Regions from separate parts of the Homo sapiens genome. Here region 2 is linked to region 1. The links are contacts of gene promoters, found by promoter capture Hi-C in human tissues and cell types (Jung and others, 2019). All regions are on one chromosome and are shown on one strand. Each heading gives the region's core, a stretch centred on a gene start or on the middle of the fragment in contact. The rest is flanking DNA. Distances are from core to core; before and after follow the strand shown.

What was found. The method cuts DNA at HindIII sites, captures the fragments that hold promoters and counts their contacts. A contact is called where the count stands out against the background at its distance.
Region 2: a fragment that was not itself captured here is called in contact with the fragment with the promoter of AAMP in region 1 in 1 of the 25 tissues and cell types used here (lymphoblastoid cells).

What each region holds. Positions count from the first base shown.
Region 1 is chr2:218,267,693-218,273,498 of GRCh38, reverse strand. AAMP (angio associated migratory cell protein) reads left to right here and starts at 3,362. Exons shown (of 11, transcript NM_001087.5): 1 at 3,362-3,533; 2 at 3,965-4,117. The coding sequence starts at 3,413. PNKD (PNKD metallo-beta-lactamase domain containing) reads right to left here and starts at 2,980. Exons shown (of 10, transcript NM_015488.5): 1 at 2,897-2,980; 2 at 1,950-2,118. The coding sequence starts at 2,963. RefSeq lists enhancers at 2,686-2,735, 2,766-3,145, 3,296-3,615, 4,184-5,069. The HindIII fragment of the contact is 2,176 bases long and covers 2,916-5,091 here.
Region 2 is chr2:216,508,813-216,514,580 of GRCh38, reverse strand. No RefSeq gene overlaps it. Among named protein-coding and RNA genes, the nearest start is that of RPL37A, 13 kb to the right of the region's middle. The HindIII fragment of the contact is 3,266 bases long and covers 1-3,062 here.

The sequences.
Region 1 (5,806 bases), core at 2,113-4,612:
CAAAAAAAAAAAAAAAAAATAAGTAAAAAAAAATCCAAAAAAAAAAAAAAAACACAAAAAGTAACTGGGCATGGTGGCACTCACCTGGGGTCCCAGCTACTCAGGAGGCTGAGGTAGGAGGATCACTTGAGCCCAGGAGGTGGAGGTTGCAGTGAGCTGACGATCACAACACTGCACTCCAGCCTGGGTAACAGAGCGAGACTCCGTCTCAAAAAACAAAAAACAAAAAACAAAACAAATGAGGAAACTGAGGCCCAGAGTCGAGTCATTTGGACTCAGTAAAGAGCAGTGCTTTTTTTTGCCTCCACACCCTGAATACCTTCTTTGATTCTCTTTATTGTTTCAAGGCTGAGCGGGACCCCACCCTCCTGGCCGGCAGCTCTGAGGGCTTGGTCCCGAGGGCCCGGGGCCTAGGCTGGTTGCACTTAAGTCTCTGGGTTTGCCCCACCATCCAGCTGGGAACACTGAGCTCTGTGAGAGGGAGCACACATGAGTAACCAGCCCCACCCTCTGCCCCTCCCATCCCAAGGGACTCACAAACCCAGACCTGGTTCCTTTCTACTAAACACTCAATAACTTTATTTGCCTTTGGCTGGCTCCTTGGTGTGGGGCAGGGTAGGGTTTGGCAACAGCCTGGGCTTCATGCGCCCTCTGGTGGACCTCAGAGGCACGAACTGGAATCTGGGCCAAACCTGAGGACTTAACAGTCAATAGCCTAGGAGGGTCGCAGCGCTCCTCAGGTCTGCACCCCAGACCCAACATCAGGGGACGGGGCACTCTGGGAGGAAGCCCTGAACCTCTGGCTCTCATACTCGCCCGTGTTGGACAACCGCATGTTCTGCCGAGCCTTCATCTGCTTCACACGGTCCTTGTCCACTTCCCGCTTGGTGAGGATGAAGAGGAGGATACCACAAGGGAAGCCGATGGCCCTACGGGTGGGGAGATGTGCACGGGGTTTGGGGAGGGGCCAAGCCTGAGCCAGAGGAGCTGGGGGGAGTCATTCTAGCTTCATCAGTTGCATGAATGCTGCAATACCTCTTATAGTCTATTCATCCTCTGTGCTGGCTGCTGGAGGGACCCACACAAATCAGATCCTGTCACTTCCCTGCTTAAAACCCCGTAACTCCATCACTTCCTGGCCAAGTCCAAACATGGCACAAAAGGCCCAGTGTGGCTGGGTCTCTGCCTGCCTCTTTCCTCCTCCCGCCTAGAGCCTGATCCTCAGCACGAGCCCTGCATTCCTGCAACAGCACCTGTGCAGGATTTTCCAGGCAGCCCTGACGCTTTCCCTCTCTGAGACTTGGCCAAGGTACCCTCCCAGTTTTCCCCTCTTAAGCTAAGTAACCACTGCTTGGGAGGCACTTTGGTATGGGGGAAAGAGCATGGAGTCACAGACTAGGTGAGAATCCTAGCTCAGTCTCAGTTCCTTCCTCTGTGAAATGGGGATGTAATACTTATCTCAAACACTAAAACATTACATGGCAAAGTACTGGCACACCTCACATGCAGAAAAAAATGTTGATTTCTTCCTCCTTTCTCTTTAATATTGGTCAATAATATGTATTAAGGTCAGAGTCAGAGCCCAATCACAATGTTCATAACGCCTTCTGAGTACTACTATACAACTAGTACAAGCTCACATGATCTCAACGAACTACTTACTTAAACTTGGGTCTCACTCCAAGCTCCCAAAAGGGAGGATGAGGCCAGGGACCCAAGTCTGAATCAGATCAACTCAGCTTACTCCACAGTAAACCCACTGTCTTCTCAATTCCACATACTTTCCCACCTCCACTGCCCCACCCCTCTGAGATTCCAATCGAACCCAACAATTCTGTTCCCACAACTTTGGATTCAGCTCGCCACCTGAAACTTGGAGAAGTTTCTAAGTCCTGCCCTCCCCTACAAGCCACGCCCCGTTGGTGGGCAAAGGGGTGGTTAAAACTCACCAGGCCAGTCCCACAGCTTTCATGGGGTTCTTGCCCCTCTTTCTGGGAATGTATTCCAGCTCCGGGGATAGGGGTTCAGGTTCCTCCTTGCCCTCTGGGGAGCTGTGGCTTTGCAGGGCCCGGGTCCTGTTATGAGAAGCCTTGTTAGCTGTGGCTCCTGCGAGAATCCCTGTGGATGGAGGTAAGGAAGGTCAGTAAGAAGAGATGAGAAGAAAGCAAGCGGGGAGGTGGGGGGCAGTAAGGGCTTGGGAGGAGCGGCTGAGATCTGGGGAAGGGGAGTGACTGCAGTCTGAAGTAAGAAGTGCCAAGGAGAATCCAAAGGGAAATGGGAAAATCGCCACCGAGGTGGCACCTTTGGAAGCCACTTCCACGTCACTGCGGGCTCATCACCCTGGTGCCAGGACGAAAAGCTTCGCTGTTCTTCCTCAGACGACAGCATGGGAAGGACTGCAGTGGGACTCACATAAGACGTATGAAGGAAATCCGGGAAAAGGTTTTGAAACTGCAAATGTTAGCACTGGAAGGGACCTTAAAGATAGTCTACTCCATCCCTTGCACTGTACGGAAGAGGAAACTGAAGCCCTGAGAGAAAAACTGCTTTGCCCAAGGTCAAACTGCTAATTATCCGGGGCTGGAACTCAAACCTCCAGAAGCCCGGGGCTCTTTCCTCTGCACTGCGGTGAGTGTGAAACACCTGGAGCGCGGGAGTCCAACAGGCTTCCTAGGAGCTCCCTCTTGCAGCAAGACCCCGGAGGTGTCGAGCAACCCGAAGGCGGGGGGATGCACTGGGTGACCTCTAAAGAGCATCTCTGCACCCCCAGACTCTAAGATCTTGCAGAAAAGTGTGGGGAGGAACCAAGAGCCCTGACCTCCTGCTATCGTCGGGCTGGACGTGAAAGAAAAGGGATCTTCTGCAGTCCTGCCCTCCCCGGGGTCCCTCTCCTTACCCCGGAGGACGCGGGCATTTCTCGCCCCCCGGCCCTTCAGCGCCGTAGCAGCTACCACCGCCGCCATGTTCAGATCCCACCCCCGCTTCACCGCGCTCCCCGCCGGGAATTGTAGTTTGCGTAAGGGGCCTCCCCCGCTCCTTCCGTCCTGCCTACAGACCAGAAACTACATCTCCCAGAAGCCCGCAGAGCGGACCCAGGAGAACTACTCTTCCCAGGAGACCCCGGAGGCGCGCGCGCTCGCTTGTTTCCCTCCAGTTGGGGGCGGAGTCAGGTGGGGCGGAGTTTGGGTTCTCTCCGCCACGCCCCGGCCCCATCTTCCAATGCCGCTCTGTGATTGGTGAGGCGGCCAGCCAACCTTCGTAGCTATTGGCCGAACGGCCGTCGCTCTTCCTGCTGGGGAGTCGCCTACGCCTACTTCCTGCCGGGAGGAGGGGCTCGAGTTCCGCGTCGTCGCGCAGAGCTGACTCTGGGAGGCGTTTGGGCCCAGAGAAGTGGATCCGCCGCTTGCGCCGCATGGAGTCCGAATCGGAAAGCGGGGCTGCTGCTGACACCCCCCCACTGGAGACCCTAAGCTTCCATGGTGATGAAGAGATTATCGAGGTGGTAGAACTTGATCCCGGTCCGCCGGACCCAGGTGAGAACTGCCGCTCCTCAGGCCATGGGACAGGAGACGCTCACCCCTGGCCTCTGACTCCTGCTTTTCCCCGCTCCCCTCCACACCCGACTGGTCATTCCTACCGATATCCCTCTTCCCCTCCTCCCCCACTCCCACCCTCACACTTAGTTCTCAGGCCTGGCTGGGGTGGGGGTTCCCTGACGCCTCCTCTGGCCCTTCCCCTCACACACCCCCTTCCCATCATCCCCTTGGCCCTCCCTTACCGCACGGTCTCTGGCCAGCCGTGGCCTCCCGTCCTGTGTCCCGCGCGCCCCCGCGGACCCCGGTGTGTCTGACTCCACCTTCCCTTCTCGCCACATGACCCGCCCCAGCCTCAGGCCTCCTCATGCTTCTCTCCGTACCTCTTACCGCCTCCCGAGCCCCATCTTCTAACCCTCTCCCCAAAGCAGATGACCTGGCCCAGGAGATGGAAGATGTGGACTTTGAGGAAGAAGAGGAGGAAGAGGGCAACGAAGAGGGCTGGGTTCTAGAACCCCAGGAAGGGGTGGTCGGCAGCATGGAGGGCCCCGACGATAGCGAGGTCACCTTTGCATTGCACTCAGGTAGGTCTTTGAGGCGATCCACCTCAAATCAGTTTAGGTGGGCGTGTAAGCATTAAACATCAGCCATGGACAGAACGTTATGGGGGACACAGAGATGGGCAAGATGCTGGCCTTGCGCTGGAGGAGCCCACAGGTGGGAAAGTGTGGCAGAATGGATGATTGCTTGGCTTCTGGCATCAGTCGAGACACCCTCTACTTTGCCAGTTAACCTTGATTAACCTCTTAGTTTTCTTTTAAAAAGTTATCTTTGGCCGGGCGTGGTGGCTCACTCCTGAAATCCCAGCACTTTAGGAGGCTGAGGCAGGTGGATCACTTGAGGTCAGGAGTTCGAGACCAGCCTGGCCAACATGGCAAAACCCAGTCTCTACTAAAAATACAAAAATTTGGCTGGGCATGGTGGCTCACGCCTGTAATCCCAGCACTTTAGGAGGCCCAGGCAGGCGGATCACAAGGTCGGGAGTTCCAGACCAGCCTGGCCAATATGGTGAAACCCCGTCTCTACTAAAAATACAAAAATTAGCTGGGCGTGGTAGCGGGCGCCTGTAGTCCCAGCTCCTCGGGAGGTTGAGGCAGGAGAATTGCTTGAACCCGGGAGGCGGAGGTTGCAGTGGACCAAGACTGCGCCATTGCACTCCAGCCTGGGCAACAGAATGAGAGTCTGTCTCCAAAAAAAAAAAAAAAAAAAAAGTTATCTTTGATAAAAGTTAATAAAAGTAGTGAGTATAAAATTAGAGATAATTGGCCAGGTGCGGTGGCTCATGCCTGTAATCACAGCACTTTGGAAGGCCAAGGCGGGTGGATCACCTGAGGTCGGGAGTTCAAGACCAGCCTGGCCGACATGGTGAAACCTCATCTCTACTAAAAATAAAAAAAAAATTAGCTGGGTGTGGTGGCATGTGCCTGTAATCCCAGCTACTCCGGAGGCTGAGGAAGGAGAATCACTTGAACCTGGGAGGCAGAGGTTGCATTGAGCTGAGATTGTGCCACTGCGCTTCGGCCTGGGCGACAGAGCAAGATTCCATCTCAAAAAAATAAAATAAAATGAGAGATAATTATATCTTTTTGAGCATATTTTATATAACTTTCTCAAGTGCTAGTTCTTAGTAAGAAACTGTTGCCAGGCACGGTGGCTCATGCCTGTAATCCCAGCACTTTGGGAGGCCGAGGCGGGTGGATCAGAAGGTTAGGAGTTCGAGACCAGCCTGACCAACATGATGAAACCCCATCTCTACTAAAAATACAAAAATTAGCTGGTTGTGGTGGCGGGCGCCTGTAATCCCAGCTACTCAGGGGGCTGAGGCAGGAGAATTGCTTGAACCTGGGAGGTGGAGGTTGCAGTGAGCTGAGATTGTGCCACTGCACTCCAGCCTGGGCGACAGAGCAAGACTCTGTCTCAAAAAACAAAAAACAAAAAACAAAAAACCCTTAACGTGATGCTCTCCTCGCTCTGTACCCAACCCCGGTGGCATCCCATGCTGACAACTGTAAGCCCTGCACCTGTCCCCACCTCTTGTCCATGGCATTGGTGTTGGGTGGTGACGGGAGTCACACAGTGAGGGGATCTACTCTGGCAAATAGGGAGCTTGGCAAATATGGGAAGGATCTAACAACCCAATTCTTGAAACTTAGAAGAACTTGGATGTACCTGTGTTTTCCAGGAGGAAAGACACGCTTTGGGTGAAAGGGGGT
Region 2 (5,768 bases), core at 180-2,679, 1.8 Mb after region 1:
CTTCTTCCAGAACAATGCAAGAACCTTCGAATATTTTAACACTATTTACCCTTTCCCAATTTATATGCTGCTGTAATACATTTTCGTTTCACTCCCCAAAGTTGTTGCTGCTACTATTCATGTGGTCTAAATTCACTTGTATTTACTGACATAGTTCCCGTTTGTTGACTGCCACTCCTTCCTTCAAGTCTCATCCATGGATTATTTGCCTTCTGTGTGATGTGTGGGTGTGCTAGTGATCAATTCCGTCAGTATTTTATTGGTGGTGGTGGCAGAGGTAACTGTCTTTGTTTCACCTTCATATTCTGATGTTATAATTGCTGAGTACAGAACTTGAAGCACTTTCAAAGTATAACTCTATTTTCTTCTAGATTCTATGGTTGTTAAGAAGTTAACTGTTAGTGTTACACCTTTTTTGCTACTAGCTGCTTTTATTATGCTCTTTTTCTCTGGGATTCAGTAATACTATGACATTCTTAGGTGTAACTTTTAAATTTTTATTTTGTGTAAGTTTACAGGGATACTTTAAACTGTGGCTTGGTATCTTTCATTGGTTTTGGGGGAAAAAAAGCCATTATCATCTCTCCTTTCTCCTGTGGGACTCCAATTATATACTATAACTGAGGCCAGGCATGGTGGCTCACACCTGTAATCCCGGCACTTTGGGAGGCTGAGGAGGATCGCTTTAGGCCAGGAATTTGAAACCAGCCTGGGCAATATAGCAAGAAACCAGCCCGGGCAACATGGCAAGATCCAATCTCTACTACTATTACTACTAATAATAATAACAATAAGCCGGGCATAACACACAGTAGCTTCTGGCCTAGCTACTCGGGGGGCTGAGGCCAGAAGACCACTTGAGCCCAGGAGTCCCAGGCTGCATTGAGCTATGATTGTGTCACTGTACTCTTGCCTGGGCAACAGAGGAGACTGTCTCTAAAAAGAAAAGAACTCTTAACTAGCTCCTATGTCTTGTACACGTATTTGTTCTTTTCCTTTTTTGGTGCTTCTTTCTGGATATTTTCTTTTGATATGGCAAGGTATCTGAAGCACAGAGCTGAAATTATTGGATGGTAAAGGTGATAATCTGGAGAGACCACCTTTTCTGCCTGCTGGTTCAGCAGTAGAATGAGCTCAAAGTGATCAGAGAACTGACTCAAGATTTCAATTTAAATGGAACCAAGGTTGAATTCCCTGAGAGAAACATTACTTCCTTAGGAACTAGGACCTCCAAAGTCACCAAACTCAAAAGCAGGTCAAAAGCGGGGGAAATAAAAATGCTTTCAGTGGGTTAACTGGCAGAATTTTCAATGTAGTAAGTTCCACCTCCATCACTTGATTTCTTGACCTATCCATTCTGGCTATGGAAGAGGTAGCACTATATACTGATAGATTTAAGGTATAAACTACATCTTGTAGGACAGTACCTTAAACTCTATATGGTATGGGATATCACACTGATGGATAAGGCATTCTGCAAGCCCATGAATGGTAATGCTGGCAGATACACTGTAGGCAAGAGACAACTCCATACCCATAATACATGTCTATCCCTGGGATGACAAACTGCTGCCCTTTGCATGATGGGAGACATCTAATGTACACTTAGGGAATAGTGTCACATTAGCTGCTCAGCATAGGCCTCTTTTGTTGCAGTTCTATCCACATATCTATGCTTGAAACATCCTTGTGTTCAACCTTGAAGAAGTATCCAGCCTTCCATTCTTGTTCCTTCCAAATCTCTGGCCAGCTTGTACGAACCCATTAGCCATTTCAAGGTAATGTGAGTATCTGGAGACACCACCCTTTTCTGCCTGCTCATCAATCAATATAAGTCTCTACTTCAGACCATCTCTTCTTGCATGCAAAGGGGATACTATCTTAAGTTCTGCCCACTGGGAGGACTTCCCTTTACCACTGTCCTCCCTCTACCTCTGTCCGCTTTCAGCTGATGCCAGTACAGGATGTAGTTCTATCCATGATGCACTTTTCCCTCTTCCATTAGCTGACATAACAAACTCCCCAAGAAGACAACTGATTCCAGGAGAAACAGTGAGGCAGTAGGAGAATACACCTAAATATATTCCATGGGAATCTAAGAGTCCATGGGAATCTAAGCTTCATGCTTAAAACAGCATACTTGTATTTTCTGGATATTCTCTGGTACAATTTTGTATAAACCATTTCCATTTTGGAATGGAATGCTGTTGCACACATCTAATTTTATAATTTTATAGATCAGATAACATCAAGTTTATAATAAACAGATTCAGTTGCAAAGAAACGTGATGTTCCATGCTCAGGTATTCTACCAGGGTCTAGTAGCAAACCAGACCTAATTTTTAAATAGATAACAGATGTCAGCAGAAGAGGTCATTAATTTCAAATCCCTAGTGCACTACAATTTTTCTTTTGCAGCATCATAGGACATCTCTATCTGCCACTAACACCTCGAATCTACTTAGATTTGCTAGGTCATACAGACCAAGTGCCAGAACAACTTGGGACTACAACTTGGATCTGCTGCCAAGTCTGTTTTTTCTCCAGGCTCTACTGAAAACTCTGACAGACTCCACTCAAGTCTTACAGGTTACTCAGTAAATGGGACAGAGAAGCACACTCAATGTGACTTACTTTGCAACCATCCCCCTCAATCCAAACGGACCCAGTAAAGATTATGTCTCTTAGTTGGGAATAGTCTACAGTGCAGCAACTTGTCTATCACTTCAGGTAGGAAATCCCCAAGATAACCTAAACACCATATTCATATCGTACTGGGTATATCATTCTCAACACTTCCTGATCTCTTTAGGTCCACTTGTTACGTCATCAGTGTAATGGATCAGTATCTTCCCTAAGACACCAAAATGATCAAGATCTTTCTGGATTATATTATAATAGTATATGATGCCGGGCACAGTGGCTCATGCCTGTAATCCCAGCACTTTGGGAGGCTGAGGCAGGCAGATCACCTGAGGTCAGGAGTTTGAGACCAGCCTGGTCCACATGGTGAAACCCTGTCTCTACTAAAAATACAAAAAAATTAGTCGGGCATGGTGGTGCATGCCTGTAATCCCAGCTACTCAGGAAGCCGAGGCAATAGAATTGCTTGAACCCAGGAGGCAGAGGTTGCAGAGCCGAGATCGCACCATTGCACTCCAGCCTGGGCACAGAGTGAAACTCTGTCTCAAAAACACAAAAAGGAATTAATACTGGGAATTTTAAAAAAAAACATTTGTTTACCAATTCATTTAAAAATAACAGTAACACCATTACGTTAACATCAATAACATATGAGTTGTATATGAGTATATGAGTTGATAGCCCTGAAGTAAAACAGTGAAAGTATACTGCTGTCCCTGCAAGTGAAGATAAACTAGTTTTGACTACTTTGCAGATAGGGATGAAAGGAAAAAATACATTTGTTAGGTTAATAGGAGCAGTATGTCATGGCCAGAAGATATGTTGATTTCCTCCAATATAGATTTATACCCAGAATCATAGCTGAGGTTAGTTATGATCATAAGATCATTATTCATGAAAATTTCAGATGTTTGGATAAGCCATTTATCTGTGATTCACCCAGGGATTCCTTTTGTTTTACTGTGTGTAGGAGAGGCAACCCTAGAGGTTTGCACTTGATTTTCCAACCCTAACAGCCCTCCCTCCATGGGCCATGGGTCAAATAAAGGAGTTTCACCATTCTGGAAATAGGGTAAAAAACAAAGGATGGAGCCACCATTCCACATTATCCACTGTGAGATATTCAATCCAAGACATCATCTGCCATCTGACCTCCAAAAGCTCCTACTCTGACCACAGTGAGTGGTCTCAGGTCCCCATGGGGAAGAGTTGGGGGGACTTTGCCCCCCAACTTGTATACTTGTGGCTCTGTTGTAGTGTTCTTCCATCAGTTGAGGGACAAAATCCAAGGGGCATTACCTTATAATTAGATGGTTTATAAAAGAGTAAGTAGTACAAATACAACCTAAATGGTAATTCAAGCTTGATGTGAAGAACATTTGCCCTCCTAAAATTATGGATAATCTCTAATTTCCTATTAGAGATTTATCTCTCCTATGTTATCTGTAGTCTTGGTGGGACCGCCAACTAAGGTGCCAAGGGCCAGAAGTATGGCCCCCAACTAGGCCACTGGACTCTTCTGTTCAGGTTTTTGACTTCTGAATAGTGTCAAGACATAAAACAGACCAGAAGCTCAGCTCCCTACTGGGGATTCTTCTTTCACTCCTCCCTTTGATATCTGTGAGAACGTCCTATTTTATTCCCCTTATAAACCTGATTCTTTAGGTTTTTTTCAATCCTGTGAAGCACTCTATTACCCTCCAATAAATACTTTTTCTGCTTTAGTTACCTGCAGTCAGTCTTTATTGCATGCAACCAAACACTCTGGCTGGGAATTGGGGCAGTGTTGTGATCCTGGCAGCAGGAGTCATGAGCTTTTCCCAAAGCTTAATGCTCTGCCTTAGTTTAACTCAGCTGCTGTGTCATTTGATCCAAATTCTCTAAAGATAATTGATTGGTTCCATTTACTCTATCAGTTGTCCATCCCGGGTCCAATCAACTGAGCATATTGAGAGTGTTCAGTTATGAGAAACAAGAGTACCAAAGGCTGTAGATGACAGTAGTTTTTATTTTTTTTTAAGACAGAGTCTCACTCCGTCGCCCAGGCTGCAGTGCAATGAAGCGATCTCAGCTCACTGAAACCTCCACCTCCTGCCTCAGCCTCCTGAGCAGCTGGGATTACAGGCACGTGCCACCACGCCCGGGTAAATATTGTAATTTTTTAGTAGAGACAGGATTTCACCATGTTGGTCAGGCTGGTCACAAACTCCTGACCTCAGGTGATCCACCCGCCTTGGCCTCCCAAAGTGCTGGGATTACAGGTGTGAGCCACCACGCCCAGACATGATTATGATGGAATCTCTAATGCATTCTACATGCCCCTCTTTCCTTACATGCAATTCCAAAGATGCCCCTAAGTATCACATGTGGAACCAAAAAAGCATTCATCCCTTCACTAATCAACCCAAATTCCCAATTAGCTACCATACCAAGATGCGATACCTTTGTAAGCTGCTTCTCAATCAGAGACTGGTAATGACTATCCTCACAATTCTGCAAAATATGGAGAGTTGATTGGCCCAAGGATACGCAAAACTTCATGTATCAAAAGGAGTAGGTAATCTGATCATCAGAAAAGTATCAAGACTAGCTAACAGAAATAGGATGTATGATGTTACTAAACGGAGAACATGAACAAGTCACTAAACATTTACCAGGTAACAGGCAAAATGAGGAGAGACAGTAGTTTACATTCTTGTGACCATAAAATTGAAATGAGCCAAGACAAAAGTTGGAATATGACACAGATGGCTCAACATACCCCTTTCAGTAGTACCAGCAATTGTGCTTCCTCTGAATGCCTAAGACATTATAATAAAAGTTTTACAAATACTTAAAAATAAGTAGGCTGGGGGCAGTGGCTCATGCCTGTAATCTCAGTACTTTAGGAGGCCAAGGTAGGTGTATCACTTGAGCCCAGGAGTTCAAGATCAGCCTGGGCAACCTGGCAAGACCCCATCCCTACAAAAAATACAAAAAAATTAGCTGGGCATGGTGGCACCTGCCTATAGTCTCAGTTACTCAGGAGGCTGAGGTGGGAGGATCGCTCGAGCCTAGGAGGCAGAGGTTGCTGTGAGCCCAGATCATGCCGCTGCACTCCAACCTGGGTGAGTGAGAGCCCATCT